3 separate regions of the Homo sapiens genome follow, and all the other regions are linked to region 1. Evidence: promoter capture Hi-C in 16 types of primary human blood cells and fetal thymus (Javierre and others, 2016). All regions are on one chromosome and are shown on one strand. The core of a region is centred on a gene start or on the middle of the fragment in contact, and the rest is flanking DNA. Distances in the headings are between cores, read along the strand shown.

Region 1 (5,145 bases), core at 2,643-5,142:
GGGTGGGGGGAGTCCAATCATTCATCCGTAGTTCTCCATAGTTCTCCCAGTGAAACCTTATTCTCCTTCTAGGCTTTTCCTGAACTGATGAGGATTCTTTCTTTCTTCATTCCTGATGTTGACCACAGAACTTTCCCCTTGTGTATCCAAAGCCTGATTATTCCCATAAGGGCTCTGTGCAAATGCCATCTCTTCCAATAATTCCTGAGACCTCTGGATGAAAATAATACTGTTACATTCCAAAATACAGGTTATCTGCATGGCTGCCATGGCATGTAACAATCCCCACCCTAGGCACTCAGGGTGAAGGACTTGGACTATAAACCCAATGGAGAAGATAGCCCTTCAACCTCTGTGACTTTTCTAAAGCTACTTTCCCCCCTTTTTGCCTTAGATGGAAACAGATAAGCAGGAGAAGAAAGAAGGTAAGTGAGATAAGAGGTGACTAGGGAAGGGGAGATGGCACATTGACTACTGGATGAGAAAGGGCCTGAATCCCCTCTTTCTCACAGTCAAGATTACAGTGGGCATCTAAGTCATCTTTGTCTTTGTGACACCCACCCCTTCCCACCACATTCATCTTCAGGCTGGACATAGGTGCCACTCAATAAATGCTTTTTGAATGAATGACACACGCCAGAAGGGAATCCACACAACATATAGATCATTTATTTTCCTTCTAGTCCCGGGTTCAGTACATAGATGGCTTTTCTTCACCCTTTGGGTTGACAATTTTCTCCAGGTTGCTGCTGATGATATGATAAAGCTCAGCCTGGGAGAAGGCCAGAGTGCAAGAGTCAGGTTCTTAGCCAATCCCCTGCCTGCCCCCACTCATCCACCTCCCCTAAAGCCTTACTCCACACTCACATAGAAGGCCCTCAGGTCCAGCACCATGGCCCTGAGCTCCCCATAGGCTGCCTCATCTCGCTCATGCACCAAGGCCCGGTAATCCATCTGCAATGTGGGAGGCAAAGCTGAGTCAGTCCCATGGGAGGCTGGGACATGAGTCTGGTTTCCTTTTATAGGAAATAGGTTAACTTGAGAATGAACCCCTTCTTAGCACCAAGAAATAGGATCCCAAAGGACTGAGCAGAGAAAAGGGTCAAGGTTGTTGAAGCCCAAACCAGTTTTTCTAGGTAATGCTTTTAGCTTAATATTCTCCACATTGGGAAAGTCACAAACAAGACAAGGAGGACTTCTTCCTCCACACCTCCTCGTCCCACACCCAGCTAAAAGGCTGGTGGACTATCCACTCACTACATGAGTCTCCTTGGAGGCCTTGGCCACAGCATCCCCACGTTCTGAGAAGTACCTGCCAGAAGCAAGGGAATACCACAGGAATGAGTGTTCAGGGAGATGTACTCCCTCAGACCCTTCCCAAAGTCTCCCATCATCCTGATAGGGCTGCCCAGCTCTGGGGGTCCCAAAGAAATGCTCCTACTGCCCCCAATGCTGGTCCTCCAGCTGCCCTCACTTGGAAATGGTTGTCTGGAAAGCTTCCACTTTGGTCTTGACGGCATTCACCCTCTCCAGCACCTTCTCCTGTGGTGACACGGGAGGCAAAGACAACACTTCATGTCCTCCCCATTTCATACACTATCTTCCTCCTCCTCCTGGTTCATGTCTAGCTCACCCCCTGAGGCTCTCCCCACTCTAAGTATCTTCAGTTACCCTTTTCTTACCTGGATTGCTACCCCAAAATCATTTCCATCTTCAATCTTGGGGATCAGGTGTTGGATCCATGTAATCACCTGTGTTAAGAGGTATCATGTAAGAATCATTCAACAAACATACTGAGTTCTTCCTATTACTGTCACTTCCTAAAAAAAGTTATATTTAATTGGGTACTTATTACATACCAGGTACTGTGCCATGTATTTATTTCATGTAATCATCACAGCAACCTTCAGAGATATGTATTTATTGTACCCATTTAACAGATGAAAAAACTGAGTCACAGAATGTCTAAGTGACTTACTTAAGGCTACCAGCTAGGTAACTGATAGAATCACGATTTGAACCTAAGCAGTCTCTCTCTAGGGTCCAATCTTTTAAAACAATTCACTCACTATATCATACCACCTCTACTATGAACCCAATACAGCAGTAGGTTCTGAGGTTACAGAGTGGATACTGCACAGTCTCTAATTTTGGGGGTACCGTTGTGATAAGAGAGGTCTAACAGAACGAGGAGAACAAAGGGGATCTAAGCCCAAGGCACAGAAGGAAGTTTTCTTTTTCAGGACTAGGTCTCTGTATGAAGGACTTGTATCTACGGAGGAGTCCAGGGCCTCACCTTGTGTGTCTTCTCTTTCTGCTTCCCCCATTTCCCAGGCTTACCAGAATGCATTTCTCTTTGAGAGTCCAGACTTCTGGCTTAACCAGGGCAAGCAGGGACAGGACTTTCTCATTCCCAGGGAGAAATCCACACTTATGGACTGTGAGAAAGAGGGGATTCAGGCCCTTTCTCATCCAGTAGTCAGTGTGCCATCACCCCTTCCCTAGTCACCTCTTATCTCTCTTACCTTCTTTCTTCTCCTGCTTATCTGTTTCCATCTAAGGCAAAAAGGGGGGAAAGTAGCTTTAGAAAAGTCACAGAGGTTGAAGGGCTATCTTCTCCATTGGGTTTATAGTCCAAGTCCTGCACCCTGAGTGCCTCACCTCATCATCCTTGGGTGGAGGGTCTGGGATGGGGATGTCCAGTGGGGCCCGGAGGGAAGTCAAGTCAGCCACATTGAGGGAGTCCTCCTGCACAGAGCTCACTGTCAAGGGCTGCCCAACCTCTTCCCTTCATCCTAGGTCACAGCCTTCCCTCCATACATCCCACTTGCACTCTGCCTCCCAACCTAGGCTCATGCCTCACGCCATCCTAATGTTCCTAATCCACTATTTGAAACTATTCTCTGCATGCTGAATCCAGTTGTTAGCTAGAGAGGGTGGGCAAAGGGGATAGAGGACATAGGATGGGGCAGAAGGGGCCCACACTACTCACTTGCAAGAGCTGATTCAGGTATATGATTTTCTGTGGCAAGAATCTGTAGAGGAATTCCTCAGCCTGTGGGTTACATTGCAAGGGAGGGGAATCACAGAATATGCTCAATGAGATGTCTGACAAATGGAACTGGAAGGGCCTTTGGAAATCACTGGGTCCAAGACTTGCAAATGAGGAAACTGAAGACCTGAAAATGAAAGGACTTGCCCAAGCTGGTAAATGGCAGAACGAAGGTTAGGACTGTGATATTCCTGCTTTGGAAGCCATGGTTTTTTTCCTCCACATCAAAAGACGGGAGAAGTGCCAGAAGTCGGGAGAGTCATAAGAAAGGTCAGATTAAAGGTAGCTATCAATAATTCCGGGGTTACTTTGGGTGAAGGCTTGGTAAGGGAAGTAGGGTTAAGTCTAGGGTGACTTGGGGGGGTCATTCTGAGAGGCTGTTATCCTCAAGTATTGGTCCAAGATTCTGGGTCAAATCGCTCAAATCCAGAGACTTACCTCCTGGAAAAGATTCTGTCTGAAGACCTCCACCTACACAGAGAGCAGTACCCGGATGTTGGTTAAGGGTCTGGGTTGTCAAAAGCTTCCACCCACAACAGGGTGCCCTCGAACTGTGGCTCAGGCCTTTCTCACCACAAACTAGCTTTCCCTGGAAGCTCCTGCTCACTGCAGTCAGAAGGCAGGAATCTGGGAATCCCCGAGAAGTGAAGGCACTAGCGAGATTGGGGGAGTTCTCTGGCACTGCTTGGTCCCCTGAACCACCCAGCTTGGCCTCCACCCAAGAGGGTTCTATGACCCCTTCCTGGCCTCCGATTCCCCATTACCTGTTTGCGGGCTTCCCCGCTCAGGCGCACCCCACACGGCTTGGCCATGCTGCTTCAGTCGCTAGATCTCTGGTCTCCCGGCTAGTCGCCCGGGCTTTCGCTTTCACTCCCCAGGTCCAGGCCCGCCCCCCTCAACCCCGCCCCCTTTCTTCTTTCCGCCCCCCTCCTCCCGCTGGCAGGCCGCAAGCAGTAGGTAGCCCCTCAGCCATTCCCAGCCAGTTGCCACTAGGAGAGGCGGTGCTGGCTGGGTCACAGTCCAGGGGCTGCCCGAGGGAGGGGCTAGGGTAAGTGGGACCGCGGAGACTGGAGCGGGGGCTGTCCCTCGGAGAGGGGCGGGGCTTATAGCTAGGGCCAACTGGAAGTCCAGGGTTGGGGTAAGAGAGGTGGGAGTATGGCAAAGGGGGTATTCAGTGGCGGGGCTCCCCCAAGAAGGCTCGACCGCAAGTAGCGGACGGAGAGAGATCAGAGCGAGTGGGAGGGGCAGCCAGAGGGAGCGCCTGGGGTGGAGAAGGACTAGCAGCTCTTAGAAGAGAGCGGGCAGGGGTTGGGTGAGGGTCTTCCCTCTGCCTTCAGGACAGACCGGAGATGGGGCGGGACTCGCTCGAGAGGGGTTAGGGCCGGCCAGAGTCGGTTCCCCTGCAGGGTGGGACTTCCTCGGTGAGGCCCGGAGCGTACCGGACTGGTCCAGCTAGAAAAAGAAAGGTTTTGAGCTGAATAGGATAACCCCGCGCCTGCGGCTATCCGGAAGGGGTGGAACCAGATTGGGGGAAGGCGGGGAAGAGCGCTTGACTGAGGGAAGATGCTGGCGCGCTCTGAGGGAGGAGCCAGGAGCCATTTGCCTTCTCATTGGTTGGGACCTGGCCCTCCCTCTTGGCCGCGCCCCCTGGTTTCCTGACACCGCTCCAACCTTAACCTTAAGCCCCGCCCGTTCCTCCGAAATTGGGTCGCAGTCCCACCCTCTCTCCTAGTACTTCCTGTTCTCGGCTAACCCTGGCGCTGGGCCGGGGGCTGGAGAGTGACCGTGGTCTGAGTGACCTGGGGCGGCTGCGTGGGCCGGGGTGGGCCTCAAAGCCGGGCACCAGACGGGAGGGGCGGCGCTCGGGCCGCGCGCTGCCCGCGCCGGGTCCTGGCGGGCGGCGAGGCTGGGGCTGACTCCTGCCTCAGGATGCCGGGGGAGGAAGAGGAGCGGGCCTTCCTGGTGGCCCGCGAGGAGCTGGCGAGCGCCCTGAGGAGGGATTCCGGGCAGGCGTTTTCCCTGGAGCAGCTCCGGCCGCTACTAGCCAGCTCTCTGCCGCTAGCCGCCCGCTACCTGCAGCTGGACGCCGCACG
Region 2 (5,145 bases), core at 1-2,500, 980 kb before region 1:
TCTAAAAAAAAAAAAAAAAAAAGCATCTACCAAGCCTTCCTGACAGCTTGGTTCTTGTTTTACTGAATACCGTATGAGAGGATTGGATGCTTATCTGGTATGGCCTGCCATAAAATTCAAAAAAAGAAGAGAGGATTTGAGGGGCCTATAGAAGTGGATTAAAAAAAAAAAGTATTCAACAAACCGGAAAACAGAACCTCTGTACACAGACTCAAAGCAGCTGGGAGTGTCAGGTATAAGGAAAGGGAGAGAGGAAGTTTGTTATAGCTAATGCATGTACGTGTGCACCCTGCCGGGCAGAGGGATGGCAGCTCCACATGGCCTTCACAGCTAGGAGGAAAGGGACACTGCAGCGGGACAGGTGTGGAGCTGGTTTCCATTTCCCCTAAAGGAAATAAGGAAGACTACGCTTGGGAATAAGAAGGATTTAAGATTTTTCTGCTTATGAAGGTAGACAAATATTTGAACCCATATTTCAAGGACATTGAAAATTCCTGTCTTTAGAGGACAAGATTGGCTACTGTTAAGTTGGAGATAATTTCCTTGCAGTTCTGCTGAGAAGGCAGAGGCCAAACTTAGATAAGCTTTATTGAATCTTTGACTACAGGAATAGAGGAGGGGGGTCTTGTCATTTTTGTCATCAGCCAGTTTCTAAATTTCTCCTTGGCTTGGTCCTTGCAGTGTCTAGGTGAGGGGAAGGCTGTGGAGAGGACTGTGCAACATGTCATTCTGGAGCAGGGCTACAGGCAGGTGGCGTTCTTATCTCCTAGGAGAGTTTGGACCTTTCTGGTCCGAGGGGACGCCAAAAAGGCTACACTACTTTGGAGGGTCTTTGTGCAAGAGGTCAAACCCTTGGCAGATTTGGGGAATGCAAAGAAAGCCATGGGGTCTGGCTGCCTGGGAACTTCTTCAACCTGTGGCCTGGCTCCTCTCCTAGGGTGCAAACTGAACAGCCTCGGGGGTTCTTGATTTCTAGTAGAAGGGTAAGGGTGGCCTCTTGTCTGAGACACTTTAGCAGCATCAGCAGGAAAAAGGAAGCTGTCTGTGTGCAAAGAAACACCAAAACAGCAGTAGCTAGCACTTCTGTGGCCTTGCCTCCCACCCTCCCATTAGCTGATCTGATGGCAGAAACAGCACTCTTCCTGCATTCCCACGCCCTCGCTCTTCCCCGCTCCCCATCTCAACTCTGGATCCAGCTAGGATGCAAGGATAAAGTGGCCCCAGCATCTTGCCCACCCCCAGTGACTGATATGACTGGGGTGCTGGGTGTCTAACACTGTGCTGAGGGTGTCCCCTTCCTTCTCTCTTGCAGTCCTTGTGACCACGACCTCTTGAGGCAGCTAGGATTACACTCCCCATCTCACAGTAGGGTGGACGAGTGATTTTGCCCAGCACTCACCACTGCAGTTAGAAATGGTGGACTGGAGATGCAGGCGCAGGCAGCCTGGTTTTGGAGCCTGCATTCCTCTGCCTCCAGATCTGTGAGCAGGCCTGATCAAACACAAGGAATACACCCCCAAACAAATGTCTTGGCCCCATATTGCAAATGGCCTGGGTGGTGGAGGTCTGTCCCAGGGTTGACCAGCACTGCCAAAGAGGGCTCACTTGCCAAGGAGACCGCCTCTTGGGTCCCAGCTGCCTGCCCTGTAAGAGGCTACTGAGGTGGGTGAGTGATCTCTTCCTCCCCCATCCCGTAACAGGACAGAAGGAAAAGTGTCAGGACCTGGGAAAGCATATGGCCAGGATGATCACTGCCCTCAGCTAAGTGTATGTGTGTTAGAAGCTATGGGAAGGCAGGGACCCAGTGAACCCTAGAGGTGGAGCCCCTGAAACATATCTAAGTATTTACTTTAGAAATTAGTTTTTGATTAAAGATGTAAAATACCCCAATCCATTGAGATGACTAATATCAGAGATAAAGCTTTGAGACTTCCTAGAAATACGGCTCTGCAGAACTTCTCTAGGAAGCCTCTCTAACCTATTCCAGCCCACAGAGATCTTTTCCCCTTCTCTGAATTTTATTGTTATTGTTGTTTTTAATTTCTTTTTTTTTTTTAGAGACAGGATCTCACTATGTTGCCCAGGCTGGAGTGCAGTGGCTATTCATAGGTGTAATCATAGCTCACTGTGGCCCAGAACTCCCAGGGTCAATCGACCCTCCTACCTCAGCCTCCCAGGTAGCTGGAACTACAGGTGTACACCACCATGCCTAGCTCCCTTCTCTGAATTTTTACTGCAATTGAATCCTAACCACAGTATCTGTCTATATGGCTTTTCTCCTAGTTAGAAAACTCATCAAGGGCAGGGATCATGGACAAACCCTTCTCCAAGAGAGTTAAAAGAGTGTGACTTGACAAGTTGAGGTAGAAGTAGATGTGGACCTACTGCCAAGAAGCCAGAGTAATCTTCCTAGGAGCAGCTGGGAGTAGCCAGCACAGTGCAGTGCACTGGACAGACAAGAAATCAGGAGCCCTTGCACTCCACGTGGCCTGCCTCCCTGGGCAAGTCATTTGCCTGGCTCTCTGTTTCCTTATCTGTTCTGGGAAAATGTTAACACTGGCCCAGCTTACCTCATGGACTTGTCATTAGGCCCAAATCAGATAATATAGGTGAAAGTGCTTTGCGTAATGTCAAGAACCCTGCCAGTGAAAATCATAGTGCCTCCAAGGAGCTACTTAAGTTTCTTTCTTTTTTTTTTTTTAACACCAGACAATTGTATGCAGAATCCATTCATAAAAAACACACTTGTAGGAAATTGAAAGAAAAGTAATGGGGAAAAGAAAAGGAGGCAGGGTGAGGTGGGTCAGGCCTGTAATCCCAGCACTTTGGGAGGCCAAGGCGGGCGGATCACTTGAGGTCAGGAGTTCAAAACCAGCCTGGCCAACAGGGTGAAACCCCATCTCTACAAAAAATACAAAAATTAGCCGGGCATGGTGGCTCACGCCTGCAATCCCAGCAACTCGGGAGTCTGAGGTGGGAGAATCACTTGAATCTGGGAGATGGAGGTTGCAGTGAGTGGAGATCACGCCACTGCACTCCAGCCTGGGTGACAGAGTGAGACCCTGCCTCAAAAAAAAAAAAATGGAGAGAAGTTAGGAGAGTCAGAGACATGTAGACCTCCAGGGAGGATAAAAGAGGCTGTCCCTCAGACTGGGTGCAGTGGCTCACACCTGTAACCACAACACTTTGGGAGGCCGAGGCAGGAGGATCACTTGAGCCCAGGAGTTCAAGGCTGCAGTGAGCTATGATCATGCGGCTGCGCTCCAGCCTGAGTGACAGAGTGAAGACTCTGTTTCTAAAAATAATAATAATAAATATAATAAAAGAGGCTGTCTTGCTACCAAGACCCAGATGACACTTACATAAGCAGATGGCAGCCAGGAGCCGAAGGCCAGACTCTGGGGGGAAGCAGGTGGGGAAGAGCGGCTGCAGCACGTAGTTGGAGAAGGTGAGGGCGATGACAGCCTGGTTGGTGGGGTAGATCACCAGCACAGCAATCCACAGCCTCAGGAACCTGAAGGAGGAAAGGGACATCCGCCGAAAGGCATGGCAGGGACGCAGAGCCATCAGGGGAGAGCCCGGGCAAGTCATGCATCTCTTTTTTATTTTCAAGGATGCTGAAGAGCCCAGCCTCTGCCCCCACCCACAAATGAGACACCCAGCCCTCTGCAGTGACAATAAAATGGTTTAATGAAGAGTTAAATTTCCACAAGCACTAACACAAGTCTTGGCGTTCTTCCTTTCTCTCCTCTCCTTTCATGATCTCTTCTCCATCACTGTGGCCACCAGCATCCAATGGTGGAAAAACAAAATTTGCAACCCCAGAATGTTGATAGACAGGACATACTAAGGGTGTGGTTACGTAAGCAATAATCAGGAGAGGTATCAAGTGGGGGTTTGCAGGGGAAGCGCCTTCCACACCTTTTGGCCCATTGGTGAGGGTTTACCAATGGCAGGGATGCAGAAATTGAGGAAATTTAAGATTAGGGCCCAGCTCTAGAGGGAGGCCATTATCCTTGGTAGTGTGAGAAGAGGGTGCACTCTACCTTAGCTGGCCACTCTCATTTGTCAAGATAGAAGGGCGTTGTTTTTGTGATGTGCTTTCTCTGGGAATCTATGGTCAGTGTTGTTACACAGTTCTGTTTGCTCTCACTCATAGACTCCTTCCCACTAAGATCAACATAGAGGTCAAAACTACAAACCTGGTCCTCCATCATTATCGGGAGCCTCAAGGGGATACAAGGCTACACTAGCAACCATGGCAGGAAAGCAGAAGAGACATTCCATTCACTAGCACCCCGTGGCACACTGGAGACTGGAAACCCCTGGCCTTGGCTTTTTCCAATCTGACCTCCTTCTGAATGTCTTCCTCCTTTTCCCCTAGACCATTCAGGTCTCCACAGATCCTCTTACCCAGCCAGTCCTCCGAAGATGTCCTTGACATAGGAGTAGTCACCTCCAGATTTGGGGATGGTGACCCCGAGTTCAGCATAGCAGAGGGCTCCCACAACTGTGATGAAGCCCGTCACAATCCAGACGATGAGAGCAAGGCCCACAGAACCAGCATTCTCCAGCACTCCCTTTGGCGAGACAAAGATTCCAGAGCCGATGATGTTCCCTGCATGAGGCACCAAGGGTAAGGAGGGGAGACAGTAGAGACAGGACGGTTGGCAGGATTGGCATTTGGAGGGTGGTCTCATTTCTGATCTGATTCTGAAATGCCTTGGATATATGTAAATGATCTGCAGGCAGGTGTGCCTAGCAATAATTCTCCCTGAAGTAGGGGAAAGAGGAGCAGAGAACTGACACTTATTGACCAGGAACTTGGTCAGGTACTTTCCACATCTCATTTAATCCTCAGGATGACACTATGGAATCAGATATTTCTCACATTTTACAGAGGAGGAAACTGAGTCTCAGAGATACCAAGTGAGTTGCCTAGGTCCACATCGCAGTAAGTGATGGTGAAGTATTGAATCTCAGGACCCTCCAGCTGAGCGACACGTGGTCCACCCAAAGTGACAAGGCCTTCAAGACTCTCTGAAAATGGCAGGGCTGGAAAAGTGGGCTGTTTTCAGAGACCACCTGCCACTGGAAGGCTTCAAAAATGAGCCAAAGGGCAATATTTTTTGGACAGATTGCGGT
Region 3 (5,145 bases), core at 1,011-3,510, 660 kb before region 1:
TAAAACAAGCATAAGTGGGGTTACTTTGATTGAAGTGGGAATGAGGGGTCCTGAAGTTCCATGTTCTTATGACCCCCTTTCCCCAAGATTCCTGAGGAGCCCCCAAGGAACCTTTAGAATTCCTTAGAATATAGTTTGAAAACAACTGTTAGGGTAGTAGAACAAGGGAACTAAGAACTAGAATTTTAGGATTTCGTTATGGCTGTTCTGGTCACTTTTTTTCTTTCCCTTATTCCTACTAATAGATTCAGTTATCTGATTATTCAGACCATATGAATATCGGATTTCCTCAGTGTATTGCTGACAACAGATCATTTCTGGTGTTCACTAAGTAATAGCTGTCATTAATGCACACATGAGCACCTTACCTGTTTGGTTTTATCATGTGATGGTTTTGTCATGTGATAGCTTTATTCTGTAGAAGTAATTTACATCTCTGCCTCATTCTTTTCATCTTAGGGGACAGGGAAGAGAGTTTGACCAAGGTCTGTCTTTGCCTTAAAATCATTGTTTTGTTAGGATTTTATGAAGGCTTGGGGAAATGTCTATTGGGAATTCACAACAGTCTTCATAGATACCTTATTAGGAAAACTGTGTTTTGTTTGCAGGGGAGATTATTAGTGTGTCAATTTTCAGCACCATGGAGAGTTCAAACGCTCCTCATTCCTTGGTTTGGTGAATGGGACACAGCTAAACCATAGAGCTGCGTGGTGTAGACCTGCCCTTTTTCAGAGCCCAGTTTGTCCAGTCTCCAGTTCTGATTGGTACAGATTGGATGAGAGTCAAACACACCCCTGAGTGTCCCCCATCCTCCCTGGAATCTTTTAGGTCCATAAATCCCAGATTCATGCCAAGGATTTGGCTAACTTGATGGAGGTATGTGAGTGGAATCCTGCCTCCTGCTCCATTGGTAACATCATTTATCATTTATATTATGATACATGAAATTTTTACCAGCCCTTAAGAAAAACTCTGTTCCCTACTCATCTTTGCTTAGAGAACCTTGAGGGGACTTAAAGTTGCTTTTTCATTCCTTGGGCCTCGTTTTCTGCCTCTGCATGAGGAAAGGCATCAATGCTCTGGCTCTCTGCCCAGTCTTGCTTTTGTGTTTCTTTGATCTCATTGTTCAGAGGGTCTCAGAGAAGCCCCCAGAGCCATGCCTTTGCATGTTTAAGCTATTGATGCTTTTGAGATGACAGAGCGTCGCTGTGTAAGAAGTGTATTAAAGGTCTATCGTGAACAAACTTGGGTCAATAGGTGGCAGTAGTCACTGAGTCCTGAGGCCCTGACACCCCCTAAACACAAACACATTTGATGGCCATTATATTTAAGGAAGGATGTGAGAAAGGAGGTCACATTGAGATTAAAACGGGGAGAAAAGCAATCCTTTTTGGTGGAATCCAGGAAATGCTGAAATGTGCTGGATTACATCTGTGGGAGTGTTGTGTGGGGTGTAGGGGAAGATTGCTGTCAGCTAGTGAAGGGCACTGATTGGAAACAGCAGAGCCTCAGGATTGGGGGAACAGATTCATTCATCTAAGATGTAGGTGCTAAGGTTTCTTCCAGCTAGAGTAAGCATGTGTTAAATGAGGACCAGCACTGAAAGGACAGAGTGGGGTTGGAGTGAGTAGAGATACAAGTAGGGGAAGGAGGGGCAGAACTGTGTGACGGGACCGTGGAAAGGGTGGGCTGTGAAGGGGAGGACTGCGGTTAGAGGGGGAGGGGGAGGCTGCTGCAATACTGAGCCTATCTAATGGGGGAGGGGAGGGGGAGATATTGGTGTGTGCTGCAGCTGCATTACTTCCCCTCCCCCACACTTCCCAAGAAGCCAGAGCAGTGCTGGCAAATCTGTCTTCATGTATTTATTATTATTAAAAATGTGACAGATCCTTCCTCCCTGGAAGCACAACAAATACTACTGATCACATTTCTCTCTCCCCTCCCTCTGCAGAGCTTTTGCATTCTCTCTTTCATTCCACCCTGTCCTCCCCCACTTGGTCTGTTTGGTGGGGGGAACCCTTCCCTTCTTTCCTTCTTAGACCTTGGTGGCTCCCTGGGGGTTTCTAATGGTGGTTGGGAGTTTTGAGGCAGTGCTGGGAGGAAGCAGCTGAGTGAGGGGCATTCATGGCCCCAGGGAGGCAGCTGTATTCTCTTATATCCAGTGGGGAGAGGAAATCACTTGGAAATAAAGATAAAAATCCTTTCTCCAGGTAATGAAATAAGCAGGTGCTCACATTCCTTTCAGTACCTGGTGTTCCTCCCTCTTCATATTCTTCTCTTTTCTACTGCCTGAATTCTGAAGGGGAAACCCCCTTGTAATGGAAAAAGCCAGGAGTTCTCTGTCTTCCCTCCCTTACCTTAAGTCCCTCTCTTCCCAGGAAAGCCATATACTATTTATTCTTCTAGCCTGCATGTTGTGTAACCAAGAGATTTGAATGGCAAAAGCCATGGCTTCTTCCTCCCCACCTGCACCCCAGACTCCCATGCCTAGGCGGGAACCTCTTTTGTTGCAGCCTGTAGCCCTTCACCATACCCATAGGTGGTGCTGCTGTTGCTCTGCAGGCAGGGCCCTCCCGGCCAACATCATTCCTCCCCACCCTGTCGCCCTCCCCCTTTCCCCAGCCCTCTACTGCCTGATTGTTATTCCACCAACGTCTCCTCTACTGTTCCCTTCCTCAAATTAATTTTGTGGCGCTCTTTTTTCCGCAGTGCCATCTTCTTCCCCTCCCCCAGCTCCGGCTCTCTTGCTTTCTGTCTCTCTCTTTCTCTGTCTGCAGGATCTCCATCTCACTTCCCTACCTGAAATCTACACTCTTCCCTACTCCCTTTTTCGTTATCTGTTCTACCCCTGACATCTTACAGATGACTCTCCCAATGAAAGGGGGCTGTAGATGAGGGTGGCTTAGAAGAGAACAGGGTGAGGAGAACTGAGGGGTCAGTACCGAAGAGTAGGTGGGAGAATGACGAGGCTCTACAGGGGAAACATGATGGGAGACAGAAGATATCCTTTGCTGTCTGCATCTATTCAGTTCCTGGATTTGGATAAGGAGAGTTCACTTGGCAAGCGATCGATCCTGTGTTATCTGAATCTACAGATTTGGGTTCTACATGCTGGGAAAATGGGAGCTAGGGAATAGCAAGAATTCAGATAATAATGGCTCATCCAGAAACTTTTGGATTAGATTGCTAAGGATACCTCTACTTTCGTTATCCTGTGTTTTGAAGACTGGAGGAGATGTCCTGTTACTGATCTTTTGTGTCCTCAGAAGGTTCTTTCCAGGACAGTTGTGACACTTATGTGATGGACATCCTGGCTCTCTGGTCACTGCTGAGCACAATTCTGGCTGCAGGACCTTGGCTCACTCTTGTAGTCTGCCTCCTTTTTTTGTCATTCCATGTTGTTCCTTTATCACAGCTGAATTTACCTGGTTGCCCCATTCAGCCCACAGTGCCCTGTATTGCTTAGCCTTTCCAGAATATGCCCAAACTCTTTAGACTGTTAGCTCTTGCCTCATCTCGCTTCTTAACTTTATTTTGGAGACCTTTCATTGTGAGACCAGTACCCCACAACCAGCTAATTCAGCAGTGTTTTTTATTGTAAAGTTATCCAATTTCTAGGATGGCTAATTTTTCTCTTATTGGATTATTCTTTATGAATTAGTAGCATCCAGTTACTCCCTGGATGGTAGTGCTGAGTCTGACTTCTGTATATACTAGGAATAGGCCACAATATGGACCTCTTTCCTTGATTCCCTGGTGGGAGGAGATCTTCCTTAGCTTAAGTGGCAGTCCTAGAATGGCTGGCTTCCATTTCCTCAGCATGTGTAAGTCAAGACTGACTCCTGGACTATGGGGAGAGGCAGAGTTTGCCAGAGCCACAGTGAAAAGCAGGGACTAGAACACCAACCCCTCACCTTACTGTCTGGGCCATGGAAGTGCCTGTGGAGCCCTGTCTTCTTGCCTACCTCTCCTGCCTTCCTAAGGTGCATACATGAGTTGGTGGAGGCAGAGGCTGGTGGCCTCTTCATTTCCTCAGCTGATTTTCCTGTTTCCTTTCTTAGAGATCTTTCTTGCTGTATTCAGGGGACTGTAGTTAGGGTCATGGTTTCATGTAATGTAGACAGTGATCTCTGTTTAGGTCCCTCTTTTAAAAAGCAAGATCCAATAAATATTTGTTGCAGTGAATGGTAGAGACTTAGCTGCTTTAGCATCCTTTGGGAGAGCAGTAAATTGAGTTTTAACTATTTTTCTTTGTAGATACTTACATTGCTGTAGCTAAAATTGTTTGATTTTTGTTTTCTTTTGCTTACAGGCCCTATGGGGGAAATGATTTATCTAAGCCTATTCAAATAAGTCATTAGCAGAGCTGGTATTAGAATTTGTTTTCTCTCACATCCAGGTCTGACTTTTCCTTTACTACCCCTTAGAAACCAATGTCTCCAATTCATCCCCAGAGCCACTGGCAGCCTTGAAGGCAGCAACGTGGCCAGGTTTTGTGTCAAAAGCTGGCCTTGGTTGGCCTGATGCTGAGACAGCATCAGCAGCAAGACAGCCAGGGCATGTGGGCTTGGCTGGCTGGTTGAGGAATCTAGCTTGCTGGGATGGTATTAGCATTTCCGCAGGCCTTACACAGGCTAGCCTACTACAGGGGCCTCCAGAGTACCAAGGCAGGGAATGAATTCCCATTCCAGATTTAATTTGACCTTAACTGCTGGCTAGTATACCCCTTCTGCTAAATACCTTGGAGCTGGATGGCACTTGGTGGTGGATGCTGGAACTCTGGACGCTCCATTCTCTCTGTGCTGATCTTCCGCAGCAAACTCTTCAGTCCCAGGATCACTTAAATAACAAAAGGTTCTATGGACCACCCCCTTCCACTAGTGCTGATAACTCTAAATCTTACATCATTTTGTTCTAGTGTAAAACTACCATTGTGACTATATTAATACATTTTCTTATAATTTTTATTGTTAGTTAAAGCTTAGAATAGAAAATAGGCTTAGAAAGCATTTGTATGTACCACTTTGAGCCAATGGTACCTTACCCTGAGAACTGCTTTGTTTCATTTCCCAGCCTTGGGTTTAGCCCCACGGGTGGGCTCTGGAGAACAGAAAGCCCCTGAGTTTCTATTTCCTCTCTCCCAAT

The links. The method cuts DNA at HindIII sites, captures the fragments that hold promoters and counts their contacts. A CHiCAGO score of 5 or more calls a contact.
Region 2: a contact is called between a fragment that was not itself captured here and the fragment with the promoter of PSME2 in region 1, in 1 of 17 cell types (M0 macrophages). The highest score is 5.0, in M0 macrophages.
Region 3: a contact is called between a fragment that was not itself captured here and the fragment with the promoter of PSME2 in region 1, in 1 of 17 cell types (naive CD8 T cells). The highest score is 6.1, in naive CD8 T cells.

Annotation. Positions count from the first base shown.
Region 1 is chr14:24,142,718-24,147,862 of GRCh38, forward strand. It overlaps PSME2 (proteasome activator subunit 2), which reads right to left and starts at 3,893. Exons shown (of 11, transcript NM_002818.3): 1 at 3,817-3,893; 2 at 3,491-3,523; 3 at 2,993-3,055; 4 at 2,662-2,748; 5 at 2,526-2,556; 6 at 2,341-2,438; 7 at 1,683-1,751; 8 at 1,475-1,542; 9 at 1,258-1,312; 10 at 868-954; 11 at 648-772. The coding sequence starts at 3,864. The coding sequence ends at 692. It overlaps RNF31 (ring finger protein 31), which reads left to right and starts at 4,781. Exons shown (of 21, transcript NM_017999.5): 1 at 4,781-5,145. The coding sequence starts at 4,982. MIR7703 (microRNA 7703) reads right to left here and starts at 848; the gene lies at 772-848. RefSeq lists silencers at 3,939-3,998, 4,699-4,788, 4,819-5,048 and enhancers at 4,309-4,378, 4,516-5,016, 4,563-4,857. The HindIII fragment of the contact is 5,988 bases long and covers 3,574-5,145 here.
Region 2 is chr14:23,161,923-23,167,067 of GRCh38, forward strand. It overlaps SLC7A8 (solute carrier family 7 member 8), which reads right to left. Exons shown (of 11, transcript NM_012244.4): 2 at 4,414-4,618; 3 at 3,363-3,514. Among named protein-coding and RNA genes, the nearest start is that of SLC7A8, 19 kb to the right of the region's middle. The HindIII fragment of the contact is 1,337 bases long and covers 583-1,919 here.
Region 3 is chr14:23,480,906-23,486,050 of GRCh38, forward strand. No RefSeq gene overlaps it. Among named protein-coding and RNA genes, the nearest start is that of NGDN, 14 kb to the left of the region's middle. RefSeq lists enhancers at 1,166-1,923, 1,924-2,680. The HindIII fragment of the contact is 5,436 bases long and covers 1-4,978 here.